Regions from separate parts of the Homo sapiens genome. Here region 1 is linked to region 2. Evidence: promoter capture Hi-C in 16 types of primary human blood cells and fetal thymus (Javierre and others, 2016). All regions are on one chromosome and are shown on one strand. Each heading gives the region's core, a stretch centred on a gene start or on the middle of the fragment in contact. The rest is flanking DNA. Distances are from core to core; before and after follow the strand shown.

What was found. The method cuts DNA at HindIII sites, captures the fragments that hold promoters and counts their contacts. A CHiCAGO score of 5 or more calls a contact.
Region 1: a contact is called between a fragment that was not itself captured here and the fragment with the promoter of ZNF622 in region 2, in 1 of 17 cell types (activated CD4 T cells). The highest score is 7.6, in activated CD4 T cells.

What each region holds. Positions count from the first base shown.
Region 1 is chr5:18,749,940-18,752,639 of GRCh38, forward strand. No RefSeq gene overlaps it. Among named protein-coding and RNA genes, the nearest start is that of LINC02100, 5.1 kb to the left of the region's middle. The HindIII fragment of the contact is 4,711 bases long and covers 1-2,700 here.
Region 2 is chr5:16,464,509-16,467,380 of GRCh38, forward strand. ZNF622 (zinc finger protein 622) reads right to left here and starts at 1,292. Exons shown (of 6, transcript NM_033414.3): 1 at 533-1,292. The coding sequence starts at 1,157. RefSeq lists an enhancer at 600-669 and a silencer at 2,477-2,699. The HindIII fragment of the contact is 4,211 bases long and covers 1-2,872 here.

The DNA of each region.
Region 1 (2,700 bases), core at 173-2,672, 2.3 Mb after region 2:
TGGGTGTTTTCTGACCTATCTAGCCATAAAGCGGGTCGTGCACAGCAGCATTCCATCATCAAATGAAAGTGGTATATACATGATTGGACTCAAGCTGGTCCTGAAGGCTTAAATAAGCGACATGAGGAAGTGGCTCAAATGTCCATGTTCTCCACTCCTGCCACCCTGCCTTCTCTTCCCCATCCTGCACCGATGGCCTCACAGGGAGTTCCCTTTGATCAGTTGACAGAGGAAGAGAAGACTAGGGCCTGGTTCACAGATGGTTCTGCACGATATGCAGGCACCACTCAAAAGTGGACAGCTGCAGCACTACAGCCCCTTTCTAGGGCATCCCTGAAGGATGCTGTGAAGGGAAATCTTCCCAGTGGGCAGAACTTGGAGCAGTGCACTTAGTTGTGCACTTTGCATGGAAGGAGAAATGGCAAGATGTGTGGTTATATACAGATTCATGGGCCGTAGCCAATGGTTTGGCTGGATGGTCAGGGACTTGGACGAAGCATTATTGGAAAATTGGTGACAAAGAAATTTGGGGAAGAGGTATGTAGATGTACCCCTCTGAGGGGTTAAAAACTGTGAAGATATTTGTATCCCATGAGAGTGCTCACCAATGGGTGACCTCAGCAGTGGAGGATTTTAATAATCAAGTTAATAGGATGACCTGTTCTGTGGACACCACTCAGCCTCTTTCCCCAGCTACACCTATCATTGCCTGATGGGCCCATGACCAAAGTGGCTATGGTGGCAGGAATGGAGGTTACACACGGGCTCAGCAACATGGACCTCCACTCACCAAGGCTGACCTGGCTACGGCCTCTGCTGAGTGCCCAATTTGCCAGCAGCAGAGACCAACACTGATCCCTCGATATGGCAGCATTCCTCATGGTGATCAGCCAGCTACCTGGTGACAGGTTGATTTTATTGGACTTCCTCCATCATGGAAAGGGTAGAGGCTTGTCCTTACTGGAATAGACACTTTCTCTGGATATGGGTTTGCCTATCCTGCACACAATGCTTCTTCCAAGACTACCATCCATGGACTACAGAAGGCTTTATCCACCATCATTGTATTCCACATAGCATTGCCTCTGACCCAGGCACTTACTTCATGGCTAAAGAAGAGTGTCAGTGGGCTCATGCTCATGGAATTCACTGGTCTTACCATGTTCCCCATCATCCTGAAGCAGCTGGATTGATAAAACAATGGAATGGCCTTTTGAAGTCACAATTACAATGCAAACTAGGTGACCATACTTTGCAGGGCTGGAGCAAAGTTCTCCAGAAGGCTGTGTATGCTCTGAATCAGTGTCCAATATATGGTACTATTTCTCTCATAGCTAGGATTCATGGGTCCAGGAATCAAGGGGTAGAATTGGAAGTGGAACCACTCACCATCACCCCTAGTGATCCACCAGCAAAATTTTTGCTTCCTGTGTTTGTGACATTATGTTCTGCTTGCCTAGACATGTTAGTTCCACAGGGAGGAATGCTGCCACCAGAAGAGACAACAACGATTCCATTAAACTGGAAGTTAAGATTGCCACCTGGACACTTTGGGCTCCTCTTACCTTTAAGTCAACAGGCTAAGAAGGGAGTTACAGTGTTAGCTGGGGTGATTGACCCAGACTATCAAGATGAAATCGGTCCACTACTTCACAACGGAGGACGGGTATGCATGGAATACAGGAGATCAATTAGGGCATCTCTTAGTAGTACCATGCCCTGTGATTAAGGTCAATGGGAAACTACAACAGCCTATCCAGGCAGGAATACAGATGGCCCAGACCCTTCAGAAATGAAGAGACAAAAGGAAATGAGTTTATATTCTGCAATGTTAGAGTTAACAATAATAATATAATACTAGAAATAATGTGTTTAAATATAATATAAAATTTAGAAGTCAAAATTAAATCTTTGTTTCAGGAAATTTGATAGGTTAATCATTATTTCAGCAAACAAATCTGTGTTGTTTAAAATACTTTTCCTTCCATATTTCATTTCTAAGCATTTTCCCCTTGATATGATTTATCTTTTCTAAAGTGACTAGATCATTCAAAGCAAAGGAACAATCAAAGCTAACTTTGCCTCAGGCTATTTGCAGTCGATGTCACTTGAGTTTAAACCACAAAGACATTTCAAAAAGAAAACATTTCTATCTCTTAATATGTAAGCCAGGAGATATGAAATCATGGCATCCCCAGAGAAACACCTTTCCCTGATGTCAACTTGGCAACTTGCATCTGCTTTTCTGATGAACAAAGAAAAGTATTTGGCTATGACAGTTCAAAAACTGTGTATCCTTAAACTTTTTACCTTCAATGCTGCATTAATGAAGCATCTCTGCTCTTCTAAAGGCCATTAAAGGCTTTTAGCTCTCTCTCAATTGTATTAGCAAGGGAAAAGTAAGATGCATTGTGACCCTGTATCTAAGACACATGCCTAGATTCCCTGTTATGTAAAGTAAAAACCATCCTGAAAATGCTTTCTGTTCTCAACATTTTATATCTACCTTCTCTGAACAGATAAGCACCACATATAATCAGCAAGATCAGCAAGTTCACAGCAAAGAAAGTTAGCTAAAAACTACTGCCAATACTTAGCAAGAACTGATTTACATATTTACCAAGTCACAGTTTCCATTATTATTGGAATACAACTCTACACAAAAGCACATACGAAAATTGAAAATACCATGATTTTTTT
Region 2 (2,872 bases), core at 42-2,541:
CACCTACACCAGCACTGTTAATAGGATGTGGGATGAGGGAAGTAAGGAATAAATAGCTCATAAAGGCAAAGAGGTGAGGGTGCTGGCTCCAGCTCCAAATTTCTGGCTGAGTTGGTTTTGATCCCCTCATTCTGTTTTACTCAACTAAATTAAGTGCAAAACCATCATAACTGGAAACCCACTAGAATCGCAAATTACACGGCAGCTGGTATGACGATAGCATGTCCTCCTGTGCATATGTTAAAAGCCTCTTCATCCAAAACACAGAAGGCATCAATTCATTCTCCAAATATGCATTAAGCACTTCTTTTTCCAGACAAGGTTTTAGGCCTTGGAGAATGAATTGAGTGAACTAAACAGCCAAACCTGCTGGCCAGATAAGGCACTTCAGAAAGCGTCTAAACCACCTTCCCTCATCATTTTTACTTAAAAGCTCTCAAACACACACACACACCCATCTCGAGTATAAATCTGGAAACTTAAGGGTGGGCCAAGTTCCTCTTTACCCTCCCCGCCCAGACAGGGCCATCACCGTCTCCATCCAGGTCCTCTTCCTCCTCCTCGCTGTCCTCCTCCTGCTGCTTTGCCAACTTCTTCGCCTGCTGTTCAAACCACTGGAGCCGGGGTGGTTTCTCACTCGGGTCTCGGTCGTGGGTCCCACGGCCACCAGTACCCACGGCCACGACATTCCTGGCCTCCTTTGCAGGCGCTGGGGGCGCCTTCTTGGGAGACATGGACGGCTGGGCCTTGATGGCCTGCTGGATGGCCGCGTTCATGGCATCCTTGTCCACACTGTCCACGCCCAGTCCTTTCTCCAAGTTCTTTTCATTCATCATCTCCACTTTCCGATTCACTGCCTGCACGGCCTTCTTCTCCAGCTCAACGTGACGCCGGGACTTGAGGTGGTTCTCGTAGGCGTTGAAAGAGGCAAACTTCTTACTGCAAACGGTGCAGTAGGTGGCCGAGCCCTTGCTCTCCTCCTCCGCGACGGCCCGCTGCGCCCGCACTCGCTCCTGGAAGCCCTCGGCGGTCACTGGGGCCATGCTGGCCACCTTCCGCCGCAGGTTGTAGCGGTGCCAGTCCGTCTTATAGTGGGCCCGCTGCATGTCCGCGTCGCGGAACGCCACCCGGCAAGTTATGCAGGTGTACGTCGCCATTGCCAGGCGAGAAATAAGAACCGACCAAGCCAAACACCTGGTGATCAGCGCCGTGGCCCCACAAGACCCTCAGACCTTAACCCGCCTCAGCAGCCAGGAAGAGCCACTCGACACGCCGACTTCCTGATTGTCACTGAGGAAACTTCCGGCACACGTCGGAAGTTATTCACAACTGGACAGGAAACCCGCCTCTCAGGCTGTGGCCACGCCTCCGCCGCCGTGAGGCCCAGGAAGCCGAGGGAACGCTGTGGCTGAAAGGGACCTGGGTCCGCTCAGTCAGCCCGAGGTGGCTGTTGATTGAGGGAGGTCGCGCCCTCCCAGTTACCTTCCCTGGTGGTTGTGCCGCTCGGTGTGACGCGGTCAAGGGGACGGCTACGCGAGAATGGGGGAGTGGGGCGCCCGAGGCTGCTCCTGGGCCCTGGGAAGCCCCCGATTAATGAATGGTCGGGTCAGCGACGCGAGGGTCGGGGTTTCTCTGAGGACCGCGCGCTGCACCTGCGGAGCCGGGTGAATGGATGTCGCGAAGGCAAGGGCTGCCCTTACCCCTCGGGGCCGACCTCGGAGCCCTCGCCCGTGGTTGCAACGCTTTCCCGGGAAACCGGAGAAGCCAGGCCGGGGGCTCGGCCTTTCTGAGGCGGCCCTTCCGGCGGAGGACACCGGCGGAATTTGAGTGCACAGAGTGCGCGAGAGGAGCTCCCTGTAGACACACAGTCCAAGCCACGTAGGTAATTCTAATAGCAGCCACATTTTTAAAGAGTAAAGAGAAATCGGTGAAACTGCTTTTAATGTGTTTAATTTAGCCCATCCTGTCATTTCAGCATGTAATCAGTCTAAAAGAATTAATTAGATCTTTTACGCTCTGTCGTTGGTTCTAAGTCTTGGAAATCCAGTGTGTGTTTTAGAGTTAACAGCCCATCTCAATTTGGACTAGACCCGTGCCAGGTGCCCAGTTGGCTGTGTACCCTCATGTATATAGGACAGCAAAGTTCTGTAGAAAAGAACTTCAGGCCAGGCGCGGTGGCTCACGCCCGTAATCCCAGCACTTTGCGAGGCCGAGGCGGGCGGATCATCTGAGGTCAGGGGTTCAAGACCAGCCTGGCCAACATGGCGAAACCCAGTCTCTGCTAAAAAATACAAAAATTAGTCCCGGCGCAGTGGCGCAGACCTGTAATCCCAGCTACTTGGGAGGTTGAGGCAGGAGAATCGCTTGAACCCGGGAGGCGGAGGTTGTGGTGAGCCGAGATCGCGCCACTGCACTCCAGCCTGGGCAACAGAGCAAGATTCCATCTCAAAAGAAAAAGAAAACATGAACTTCAAATGCTTGGGGAGGTCGTAGATTTCATCCACACAGCCTGGTTGAACCAGAGTCAGCCTTGTTAGAGTCGAATGTTGCATGCTCAGAATCCAGGCTGCCAAGAGAAAACCAAAAGAAGATGGCGCTTTAAAAAACCTTCCAGTGCCTTCCCTTGACTCAATCAAATTCAAACACCTTACTTTCTATTCTCCGAGGCTCTACCCCTCCCTCTGAGGTCCTGCCACACCCCCTTCTCTACCCTGCTCACCCTACTTGAGTCGCAATGACACATTTGATGTTCTTCTAACAAGCACTTTAGTTGGTACTAAGTCAGAAAGTCAGAAATCCATTACTCTTCTGCTTGGAACATCCTTTTGCTGGCTTGCTTCCTTATTTTTTGGATCTCTGCCCAAATGCCTTT